Regions from separate parts of the Homo sapiens genome. Here region 1 is linked to region 2. The links are contacts of gene promoters, found by promoter capture Hi-C in blood cells and fetal thymus (Javierre and others, 2016). All regions are on one chromosome and are shown on one strand. The core of a region is centred on a gene start or on the middle of the fragment in contact, and the rest is flanking DNA. Distances in the headings are between cores, read along the strand shown.

The links. The method cuts DNA at HindIII sites, captures the fragments that hold promoters and counts their contacts. A CHiCAGO score of 5 or more calls a contact.
Region 1: a contact is called between a fragment that was not itself captured here and the fragment with the promoter of PUM1 in region 2, in 1 of 17 cell types (neutrophils). The highest score is 6.7, in neutrophils.

Annotation. Positions count from the first base shown.
Region 1 is chr1:31,789,105-31,794,952 of GRCh38, reverse strand. It overlaps SPOCD1 (SPOC domain containing 1), which reads left to right. Exons shown (of 16, transcript NM_144569.7): 11 at 718-829; 12 at 1,056-1,206; 13 at 1,525-1,675; 14 at 2,186-2,275; 15 at 2,552-2,738; 16 at 3,662-4,531. The coding sequence ends at 4,350. Among named protein-coding and RNA genes, the nearest start is that of SPOCD1, 24 kb to the left of the region's middle. RefSeq lists a silencer at 5,561-5,848. The HindIII fragment of the contact is 2,297 bases long and covers 2,939-5,235 here.
Region 2 is chr1:31,063,814-31,069,839 of GRCh38, reverse strand. PUM1 (pumilio RNA binding family member 1) reads left to right here and starts at 4,123. Exons shown (of 22, transcript NM_001020658.2): 1 at 4,123-4,224. RefSeq lists a silencer at 3,817-4,036 and enhancers at 3,365-4,279, 4,147-4,466. The HindIII fragment of the contact is 1,467 bases long and covers 3,790-5,256 here.

The DNA.
Region 1 (5,848 bases), core at 2,838-5,337, 730 kb before region 2:
GTGTCTACGGGGACTATATGATGTGACAAATGCCTCTGCTATTATTAGTGAACAAAAAGAGAACACCAAGTTGAATATATGATCCCAGCTGTTTCAGGAAAAGGACCCCCAAACCCTGTGTATAGAAAAAGATTATAAAGGGCTGGGCACGGTGGCCCACACCTTTAATCCCAGCACTTTGGGAGGCCGAGGCGTGTGGATCATGAGGTCAAGAGATGGAGACCATCCTGGCCAACCAACATAGTAAAACCCCGTCTCTACTAAAAATACAAAAATTAGCTGGGCATAGTGGCACACGCCTATAGCTACTCAGGAGGCTGAGGCAGAAGAATCGCTTGAACCGGGGAGGTGGAGGTTGCAGTGAGCCGAGATCGAGCCACTGCACTCCAGCCCAGGCAACAGAGCAAGACTCTGTCTCAAAAAACAAACAAACAAACAAAAAAAAAAAAAAGAAAAGAAAAAAAAAGAAAAAGATTGTAAAGGAATACCCAGGATATCAACAGTGGTCTCTGAGTGGTGTGACAAGAAGTGATTTTCTTTTTAATTTTCAAGTTTTGGTGTTTTCCAAATTTTCTTTATGAGTTCACAGTATTTTGGTAATAAAACAACATTTATTATTGAGAAAAATAAACCACATCCTGGGGCCCCCTACCCATGGAGGCCTCCGGGCACCCCCAGCCACGTTTTCAGCCTGCCCCTCTGTCTTCTGCCTCCCAGGGACCGCAGATGTTCATGGACTGCAGCCCACAGGCCCTGCCCATCGCATCAGAGGACACCACGGGGCAGCATGACCACCACTTCTTAGACCCCAACTGCCACATCTGCAAGGGTGGGAGGGGACACGGGAGGGGTGCAGGGGTGGCAGCCAGGCTGGGGCTGAGCGTGCAGTTCAGCAGCAACAGGGATTTGTGGCCTGGGGAGAGGGTGGCAGAGCAGGGGTGCCCGTGCCCCAGGTCACCTAGAAAAGAACCTGGTTCAACCCTGGCTCTAAAGCCCTGGGCTGGCTTCAGCGCTGCTGCTGCCCCTGTTTCAGCTCCTGCCTCTGCTATTTGCAGACTGGGAGCCCTCGAATGAGCTGCTAGGCTCCTTCGAAGCCGCCAAGAGCTGCGGGGACAATATCTTCCAGAAAGCCCTAAGCCAAACTCCTATGCCTGCTCCAGAGATGCCCAAAACCAGGGAGTTGTCTCCCACGGAACCACAGGACAGGTGTGGGGTTGGGAGCAGGGAGGTGGATAACCCAGCAGGGTTGAGGGGGAGGCCACCACCTGGTGCAACAGACATAGCACTGGCTTTTCCTGTGTGGCCTTGGGCAAGTCTTCCCTCCCTTGGGAACCTCACTTTCCCCATCTGTGCAATGGAACTAATCATCCCAGCCTCCTGGCAGCCCCCTGCACAAGGCCAAGCTTGGGCCAGTGTTCCAGTCCCCACAGTAGGGACACAGGATCTGCTCTGAAAAGAAAGGAGGTGCCGGGGAAGTCCTCATGGCCTGCTCTGTCTGGCCCTGTCTTCTGTCCCTCCCTCTAGGGTCCCTCCATCTGGGCTCCATGTGCCTGCTGCACCCACAAAGGCCCTGCCCTGCCTGCCACCCTGGGAAGGTGTTCTGGACATGTTCTCCATCAAGCGGTTCCGGGCCAGGGCCCAGCTGGTCTCGGGACACAGCTGTCGGCTTGTCCAGGTGCACCTGCCCTCCTCGCCAGGGATTCCCTTACACACTGACCAGCCCAGGCAGCCTCTCTCTCTCTCTCTCTTTCACTCATGCATTCTAAAACAATTCATGGGCACCCCTTTCTGTGCCTGGCCCTGTGCAGGGCATGGGGGCAAATGAGATGTTGGTCCCATTCCTACAGAGACAAACAGGGTGAAGGACTCCCTGTCACCCATAGCAAGAAGGGCCCAAAGGAGGGTTTTAGGAGTGATCGTTGAGTGACTTAATGATCAGCTAAAGTGTCGGATGAGAGCAGAGGATAGAGGAGGGAGGGAGGGGCTTTGGAGAAGTTGTAGATTAGCCAGTACAGGCTGCAGACCTCCATGGGGCAATTAGAGCTTTCTGGGCAGCCACTGAGGGTCCTGGAACACTGCCTGCCCATATTTGCCACAGGCTGCAGCCTTCCAGGTGGCTGGGAATGCGTCCACCCTGAGTGGGTGGGAAGCTGGGGAGCTGACTGGCCATCCTTCCTGCCCCTAGGCTCTGCCCACCGTGATCCGCTCGGCAGGCTGCATCCCCTCCAACATTGTCTGGGACCTTCTGGCCAGCATCTGCCCAGCCAAGGCCAAGGTACCTGCCCACTCTTGGGCACCCCCTCTTTTCCTAGTACCTTACTCCCACCTCCCTCTCCACTTCTAGAGCAGAGGCCTGGCTTGGATATCTGGGTCTAGTTCCCAGAGTGACTGCAGACTCACTGTGTGACCCTGGACAGGTCCCTCTGTTTCCTCCTCTGGAAGATGGAGACATACTTTCTCACGGGGTTCTCAGGGGTTTCAGGGAGCCCAGGGGTGTTGGCAGGAGCAGAGGATGACTGCGCTTACAGCTGCTCTCCTCCTGCCACCGCAGGACGTCTGCGTGGTCAGACTGTGCCCACATGGGGCCCGGGACACCCAGAACTGCCGCCTGCTCTACTCATACCTCAATGATAGGCAGCGCCACGGGCTGGCCTCTGTGGAGCACATGGGGATGGTCCTGCTGCCCCTGCCTGCCTTCCAGCCCCTGCCCACCAGGCTGCGCCCTTTGGGGGGCCCAGGTGAGTGCCTAGTCCCCATACCAGACCCTGCCTCTGCTCACTTGGTGACCAGACCAGGCACGGTTGACACAGTCACCCAGTAGAGGCAGGCACATCTCAGAAGGGAACTCCTCACCCAGCCAGGCAAATGTGAGTACAATGACAGTAATAGCTCACGCTTGGATATCATGAACTGCATGCCAGCCATTGTTCTAAAAGCTTTACCTAGATGAATTCTTGTAGTCTCATCACCCTATGAGAATGGTACTATTAGACTAGACTGTCCATCTCATAGAAGAAGAATCTGAGGGAGGAAGAAGGCAAATGACTTGTCCAAAGTCACACAGTCAGTCAACAGCAGAACTGGGCTTCACTCTGTTCACACGTTGTGTGAAGCACAACATGGCTTCAGAAACCTGGCCCCTAACCACCACACCACACTGCCTCTCAAGGTAGGCACCCCTGAAGAGAAACTCCAGGGACAGCCACATTTGACCCAGGCAGCAGGACAGAGTCAGGACCTACACACACTTGACTGTAAATGTCACCTCAGAGAGGAGGGAGGGATGTTTCGCCACAGCCACGGGGGGCCGAGCTCGGCCTCTGTGCATGGACACCCTCCACGGCGTGGCTCAGGAAAGCAGCGAGGTTGGCAGTGGGCGCTTTGCCCACTCCTGAGCAAAGCGCTTGGCCTTTTGGGGCTCCATGTCCTGAGACAATGAGGTAGACTTTGAGTCTGTAGAGTCTTCAGGTCAAACAATCCATACCCCAGCCTCAGCCAGATAAGCCTTGATCCCGCAGAGCTCAAATCTTCCGAGACAGCCCCACCTTCCTACTTACTTTTCCCAGCATCTCATGGGCCCCATCTCACTGTGAAGAAGCCCTTCCTGGGATGTAGGCTCCAGATCTGCTGCAGCTAAGCTGAACACAGTTCTTCCCCGCAGGCCTTTGGGCTCTTCCTGTCTCCCCTCTCCTTTCCCCAGGTCTGGAGGTCACTCACTCAAGTCTGTTGCTGGCTGTGCTGCTCCCCAAGGAAGGGCTTCCAGACACAGCAGGGTCCAGCCCCTGGTTGGGGAAGGTTCAAAAGATGGTCTCCTTCAACAGTAAGGTGGAGAAGAGATACTATCAGCCAGATGACAGGAGGCCGAATGTGCCCCTGAAGGGCACCCCTCCCCCAGGAGGTGCCTGGCAGCAGAGCCAGGGCAGGGGCAGTATAGCTCCAAGGGGAATCTCTGCTTGGCAGAGGCCCCCCAGAGGCAGGGGGAGGCTCTGGCCAGAGCCTGAAAACTGGCAGCATCCTGGGCGAGGGCAGTGGCCCCCAGAGCCAGGCTTGCGCCAGTCCCAGCATCCCTATTCAGTAGCACCAGCTGGTCATGGCTTTGGCCGTGGCCAGCACTTCCACAGGGACTCCTGTCCCCACCAAGCCCTGCTCCGGCACCTCGAATCCCTGGCGACCATGAGTCACCAGCTCCAAGCCTTACTGTGCCCCCAGACCAAGAGCTCCATCCCCCGCCCTCTGCAGCGTTTGTCTAGCGCCCTTGCAGCTCCAGAGCCCCCTGGCCCAGCCCGTGACTCCTCTTTGGGGCCTACAGATGAAGCTGGCTCTGAGTGTCCCTTCCCTAGAAAGGCCTGACCCTCCTTACCCACCAGAACAGGGGTTTTGATGCCCTCACTAGTGTTGAAGCCTGTTCCAGAGAGAGGTGGGACTGCAAGGAGAGGATGGTCAGCCCTACCCACCTGCCCTGTTTGAACTTCCTGTTTGACAATGTTTGCTGTTGATTTTTTGTTCAATAAAGAATTTGGTAAAATTGGGATTGCATCTGCTAGCTGGTCAGGAGAGCCCCTGGTCCTGGTCAGATGTGGGTTGAGTGGGTGTGTCAGTGAGTGTCTTGTGCACAAATGTGCAGCCTTGCTCATTGCTGGTCTGAGGTCCTGAACCATCACTGCGCCCCAGGGCACAGCTATTGCCACGGTGGTTTCTGGAAGCATTTTGCAAGTATTCTGAACCAGGAGGAAGAGGTGGTGGTGGGAAAGAAAGTAGGACCGAGGTTGGGGGTGGAGAGAGAAATGGACAGAGCCTTTTGGAGGGTCACAGACATCAGACATCAAGAGATTGCTAGAGAGGAAAAGATAAGCAAGTTGCAGTGGACTTTAAATTTTTCAGTTAATACTAAGATTTTTTTTTCCTTTGACTAGATGGGGAAGGATAGTACATACCTTCACCATATTCCCTCCGAGTCTCTGTCTATGTGCTTCTCAGGGATCTCTGTGCACTAGTGTGCCTGCAAGCATGTGAGAGTATCTGTGTGAGTTTCATGGCCTGCCTGTGTGTAGGTCTCTGTTGAGGAAGTCAGGAGATCCAGATTGGGTGACTCCTCTCTGTATCTCTTGCCAGATTCCAGAGACTGGTGTTAGAAAATGTCAAAGGTCTTAGCCTTGGTGGTGGGCATTCAGGGTGGGGTTGGAGACTGGTATTAGGGTTGGACGGTGCTGCCTTGCCTTGGGCCTAGAACAAGCTTCTAACAGCAACTGCAACTGTCAAGCGTTTCATGTGGGGTGTACCTCGAGAGAGCTGCATCTGCGGACTGATGGGGGAACCAGCTGCCAGGGCCAACCAACCCAGCGTGGGGAAAGGGGCCTGGCTTCCAGGAGAGAACCTCTCTAGAACCCCACCCTTCGCCCCGGGGCCAGAAGGGCCCTACCCGCTCTTTGCTCACCCCTTCGCAAAGTCCACCCATGTACAGGCCTCACCCTGGCCCCTGCTGGACTGGAAGGGGTGGGGCGATGGTCGGTTGGGGGAGCCCTTCTTCTCTGCCCCATGAGCTCTGCGGCTGCCCTACCCGCGGACGACAGCAGAGGGGGCCCTCGGCCTTGGGATGGAGGTCGGGGCTGGCAGGACCGGAGTCAAAGCGGGGGGTGGGGCGAGGTGCGGGAACTTAGCGCAAGGAGTTGGAAGCGGGGGCGGGGTAGGATGCGGGTGGGGTGCGGGTGAGGGGTAGGGAGAGGGGGCTGGACAGTTGAACCGGGAGAGGGAGCGGGGCTCCTTCGGGAACTTTTCCGGCTCGAAATGGCCTGGGAGCGCCGCAGCCTCCGCGCTCTATGCAAATGACGCAAATTACTATGCAAACCTA
Region 2 (6,026 bases), core at 2,874-5,373:
TCTTACTTCTTCAGTTTCTGGAATAACTGGGATTACTGATGTGAGTCACTGCACCTGGCTGTATCAGACACTACCGTGTGCTAGTTAATTTAACCATCGTAACATGCAAGAAAAGTATAGATATCCTCATTTAACAGATGAGGGAGCTGGACTCATGCTCTCAAGGTCACATGGCTAGAAAATAGCAAAGCTCACATCTTTAACTTCCAACTCATTCAGAGATTAAAATCTCTGTCTTCTATTTTTTTAAACAAAAGTAACATTCTGTTTTTTAAAGTAAAGATAGGCTGGGCGTGGTGGCTCATGCCTGTAATCCTGGCACTCTGGGATGCCGAGGCAGGCGGATCACTTGAGGTCAGGAGTTCAAGACTAGCCTGGCCAACGTGACGAAACCCCGTCTCTACTAAAAATAGGAAAACTAGCTGGGCGTGTTGGTGCACACCTGTAATCCCAGCTACTCAGGAGGCTGAGGCAGGAGGATTGCTTAAACCTGGGAGGCAGAGGTTGCAGTGAGCCGAGATTGTGCCACTGCACTCCAGCCTGGGCGACAGAGTGAGACTCCATCTCAAAAAAAATTAAAAAAAAAAAAAAAAGATAATACATGCTCAAACAATGTAAACAACATGGATACCAATTTTCTTATACACTTGTAGAAACACTATGTTAATAATCATTTTAATTTTGGCCAGTGTGTTTAATGGATGAAAATATTATACTTTAAAGTTGCATTTCTTTTATTAGTTATTTTTTCTCATCTTTTACAGCTTTGAGATTATATATATATATAAAACTTTTTTTTTGAGACGGAAACTTGCTCTGTCGCCAGGCTGGAATCCAGTGTCGAGATCTCGTCACACTGCAACCTCCGCCTCCCAGTCTCAAGTGATTCTCCTGCCTCAGCCTCCCAAGTAGCTGGGACTACAAGTGCACACCACCACGCCCAGCTAATTTTTGTATTTTTAGTAGAGACAGGGTTTCACCATGTTGGTCAGGATGTTCTCGATCTCAGGACCTCATGATCCGCTTGCCTCGGCCTCCCAAATTGCTGGGATTACGGGCATGAGTCACCGTGCCCGGCCGATATATATTTCATATACCATAAAACTCACTATTTTATTTTATTTTATTTTATTTTTTTGAGGCGGAGTCTGGCTCTTGTCACCCAGGCTGGAGTGCAATGGTGCAATCTCTACTCACTGCAACCTCTGCCTTCCGTGTTCAAGTGATTCTCCTGCCTCAGTCTCCCAAGTAGCTGGTATTACAGGCACCTGACACTACGCCCAGCTAATTTTTGTATTCTTAGTAGAGATGAGGTTTCACCATGTTGGCCAGGCTGGTCTTGAACTCCTGACCTCCAGTCATCAGCCTGCTTCAGCCTCCCAAAGTTTTGGGATTACAGGCATGAGCCACCATACACGGCCTAAAATTCACTAATTTACCAGCCTGGGCAACACAGGGTGAACTCATCTCAAAACAAAAACAAAAACAAAAAAATTAGCTAAGTGTGTTGGTGCATGGCTGAAGTTCCAACTTCTTAGGAGGCCAAGGTGAGAGGATCGCTTGGGCCCTGGAGTTCAAGCCTACAAGTGAGCCATGGTTACACCACTGCACTCTAACCTGGGAGACCCTGTCTCGAAAAACAAAAGTAAAATACAAATTCACCATTTAAATCATAAAGTGTCTACTTTGGTGGTTTATGGTATACTCACAGTTTTGCAACCGTCATCGCACTCTAATTTTAAAAGGTTTTCAACACTCCAAAAGGAGACCCCATACCCATTAGCAGTACCTTCCCATTTCTGCTCTTTCATCCCTCAACCCCAGGCTACTTTTATGTTTCTTGGCTGTATGTGATTTTGTTATGTTTGTTTATTTTGGATTTATTTTATTTTGGATTTATTTCTTTCCTTTTGACATGGAATCTCATTCTGTTTCCCAGGCAGTGCTTCATCTCAGCTCACTGCAACCTCCACCTCCTGGGTTCAAGCGATTCTCTTGCCTCGGCCTCCAGAGTAACTGGGATTACAGGCGCCCATAACCACGCTCGGCTAATTTTTGTAGTTTTAGTAGAGATGGGGTTTCACCATGTTGGCCAGGCTGGTCTCGAACTCCTGACCTCAAGTGATCTGCCTGCCTCGGCCTCCCAAAGTGTTCAGATTGCAGGCATGAGCCGCTGCGCCCAGCCCATTTCGGATTTTTAGAAATTGATTACAGATTTTATTTATTTATTTATTTGATACAGGGCCTCTTTCTGTCTCCTAGGCTGGAATGTAGTGGCCCAATCATAGCTCATTGCAGCTCAATTCCTGGGCTCAAGGGAATTCTCCTGCTTTAGCTCCCAAGTAGCTAGGACTACAGATGTGTGCCACCATGCCCAGATAATTTTTAACTTTTTGTAGAGACGAGGCCTCACTATGTTGCCCAGCCTGGTCTCAAACTGCTGGCCTCAACCAATTCTACCACCTCTGCCTCCCAAAGTGCTGGGATTACAGGTGTGAGCCACCCCACCAGGACCCTGATGGGAGAAATTTTGCATTTATCATGATGATCAACCATTTCCTTATCATGTGTATTGCAAATATATATATATGTATATATACGTATATATATGTTTATATATGTATATATGTGTATATATGTATATATGTATATATGTGTATATATGTATATATGTGTATATATATGTATATATGTATATATACATATATGTGTATATATATATATTTTTTTTCTTGAGACGGAGTCTTGCTCTGTCATCAGGCTGGAGTGCAGTGGCACAATATTGGCTCACTGCAACCTCTGCCTCCTGGGTTCAAGTGATTCTCCTGCCTCAGCCTCCCCAGTAGCTGGGACCACAGGCGCCCGCCACCACTCCCGGCTAATTTTTTTGTATTTTTAGTAGAGACGGGGTTTCACCATGTTGGCCAGGATGGTCTTGATCTCTTGACCTCATGATCCACCCGCCTCGGCCTCCCAAAGTGCTGGGATTACAGGCATGAGCCATCGCGCCTGGCCGTGTACTGCAAATATTTTTTATCCATTTGTTCTACTTTGTTGATGGCATCTCTTCTCGTACAGATGTTTATATTTCTTTCAATATTTTCTTTTATGATCTTTTGACTTTGATTCATGAGTATAAACATTTTCCCTCCTCCAATTATAGAGCTTCTCCCCATATCTTCTTCTGGTCTTTTACAGTATTGCGATTTGTCTGTTTTCAATCTATTTTTTTTTTTTTTTTGAGACGGAGCCTCTCCGTGTCGCCCAGGCTCAAGTGCAGTGGCGCGATCTCTGCTCACTGCAAGCTCCGCCTCCCAGGTTCAGGCCATTCTCCTGCCTCAGCCTCCCGAGTAGCTGGGACTACAGGTGCCCGCCACCACGCCCGGCTAATTTTTTTGTATTTTTAGTAGAGACAGGGTTTCACCATGTTAGCCAGGATGGTCTCGATCTCCTGACCTCATGATCCGCCCGCCTCAGCCTCCCAAAGTCCAGGGATTACAGGCGTGAGCCACCGCGCCCGGCCTTCAATCTATTTTGAGTTTAGTTTGAGACAGTAAGACTAAAAGCACTTAACATACATTATTCCACTTAATCCTCCAGGCCATTCTGTTAAGTGGGGGTTATTTTCTTCTTCATTGTACAAATGTGGAAATGGAGGCAGGTCGATTTAAATAAGGCCGCAGAGCTAGAAAGCTGCAGAGAAGGGGTTTGAACCCTGCACCTCTGGGGCCAGGGCAGTGCGGGTGGCCGTCCGCGAACCCTGCTAGCTGTGGTGCTCGGGGGCAAGCTTCCGAGGGCGCGGCGGGCGCGAGGAGCGCGTCCGAGACTCGGTGGAGCGTCACCGGCGCAACCCCGCGTGCCCAGCTCCAGGCCGTGTTCTCCCAGGTGCGGGCCGGCGGGACCCCGCCTTCGGCCCTGGCGGCGCGCGCTCGCCTAGCGGGCGGGCACTCGCGCGCAGCGTTTGTGTTGCCTGCGAGTTTCCCGAGTTCACACAGGCCCTGGGTTGGCATGGCAACCAGGCAACCTGTTCCAGAGCCGCCAGCCTTCTCCGCACATGCCGCTGCCACCGCCGGGGCCGGGGCCGGAGCCTATCCCAGGATGCACCGCGCCAACCCAGTCCCCAGTGGGCCGCCATGTTGTCGGAGTGAAAGGTAAGGGGGAGCGAGAGCGCCAGAGAGAGAAGATCGGGGGGCTGAAATCCATCTTCATCCTACCGCTCCGCCCGTGAGTATCCGCACCCCACCGGCCCCAAACGCTGCTCCGGACCCCTAACGAGCAGATTGTCCCTTCATATTGGTGTTTGAGAGTGGTTGTGGGGGTGAGAAGGGCTTTGGAAAAGCCGCCGGGGCCCTGGCTGAGGCTTCTCACTCGCTGTTCCTCGTACATGTTTTGGAGTCAGCAGCAAGGCCCCTATTGTTATCAAAGGAGGGAGGGGGTGGGGAGCGGGGTCGAAGCTAGGAAAATGCTGGGGGTTTAGGCCCGAGCCCAGGGCGTAGACGTGCCTCTACATTTTTGCCTGGCCCTGTTGGGAACCACCGAAGATTGATGTTGCCATTCGGGTTGCTTTTTTTGATGGGTTTGCGAAGCCCCGAGTCTTCTGTGTGGCCATGAAGTGTAATTCTGTGCCACCCCGATTTCTTCGACTTCTTGAGCTTCCGTGGCAGCGCCGGAGGAGGAGGAACAATAAATCGCTTTAGAAGCAGCCGTGGCCCTTGTCCACAGGCGAGATTCACCGTGGGGGAACTTTGCGAGCCTTAAATGTGGAGAAGTGGCGATCAGGAAGTTTCAGAATGCTTTTTAGGCTCCTGGGTTGCTGTGGCCTTTTGTTTCCGTGTGAGCTTGTGTTTTTGGTGGGTTCTTCCTTTTTGAGCCTCCCGGTGTTGGTGTCTCTCTTCACTCAAAGAGGGGTTCACCCCTTGCTAGTAGGAAAATCTAGATACACAATACTAGTTTTAGTCCTCACAAACATGCTTGGTAAACATAGATCATTTGTTTTACTTGTCAGTACCATTCCCACGTCAAGTGAGGAATACACTCCTGTAACTTTTCCCTCCTATAGCCCCCCCCCCCCCCCCCGCTGAAAAAACAAAGCCAGAAACCCACACACAGCATTACCAGAGAAGGCTTTATTCTCCCGTAACTTAGATTGTTACCTTTTATTGTTCAATTAAGAAAACACTGTTCTCAGCCCTCGATACCATTTTGCTCAATTCCTGTTATTACTGGGATTAATTAAGAATAAGATTTTATGAAGCTTTTCCTGGGTTCTGTTTTAAAGTCAGTTAACTTCTGAAACAATAGGCTTAGCATTTTGTTTCTTGAAAGCACCTAAAAACTTACTAAGACAGGCCCAACCCCAAGAAATGTGGCTTCCGATGCAGTTTTCGTAAGCAAAATAAACATTTTGACCCTTTGCTAATTTTAACTTTATAAAACACTGGGGGGCTGTTGATTCTTTATCTGGGCTCTTGGGAAACGCTCTCCGGATTCTGAACTTTGAGTTAGTGTTTTGCTTTAGCGACAATTGAATTCATTTTGTTCAAGGCCACAGCTTTTTGAAGTTGGAATTTGTTTAGTTTAGGTTTAAAATGAACTGTTTTAAGATAAATTTATGACCACAGAATGTTTGTTAAGTGTGGTAAAAATAAACACCTTTTAAACCACTAAGCATTTTAGTAAAAGGTGAGCCATGGAAATAAAGTAAACCGTGTTCCTTTGAATTCAACTCAATTAGTGATATTTTAAAAAACTTTGTAAACATTTGAAAGCTGTGAAAGAGTAGCTGGACTGAGCACTTCTAGTTGCTTAAAGTACTTATAAGGTGTCATTTGTAAAAAAATCACATTTTAAATGCTACACGTATTAGTGAGCTTTTCTGATATTTAGGATACTGAGTTTTTAATTTTTGTGCCGTATTTGCCAAAATACCACAAAACTACCCAAGATAACATGTTAATTGCTTAGGTATTTGCTCACTTTGAAACTGTTCTGCCAGGTTTTCTCTGGTTTGAGAAACTGCCTTGCCT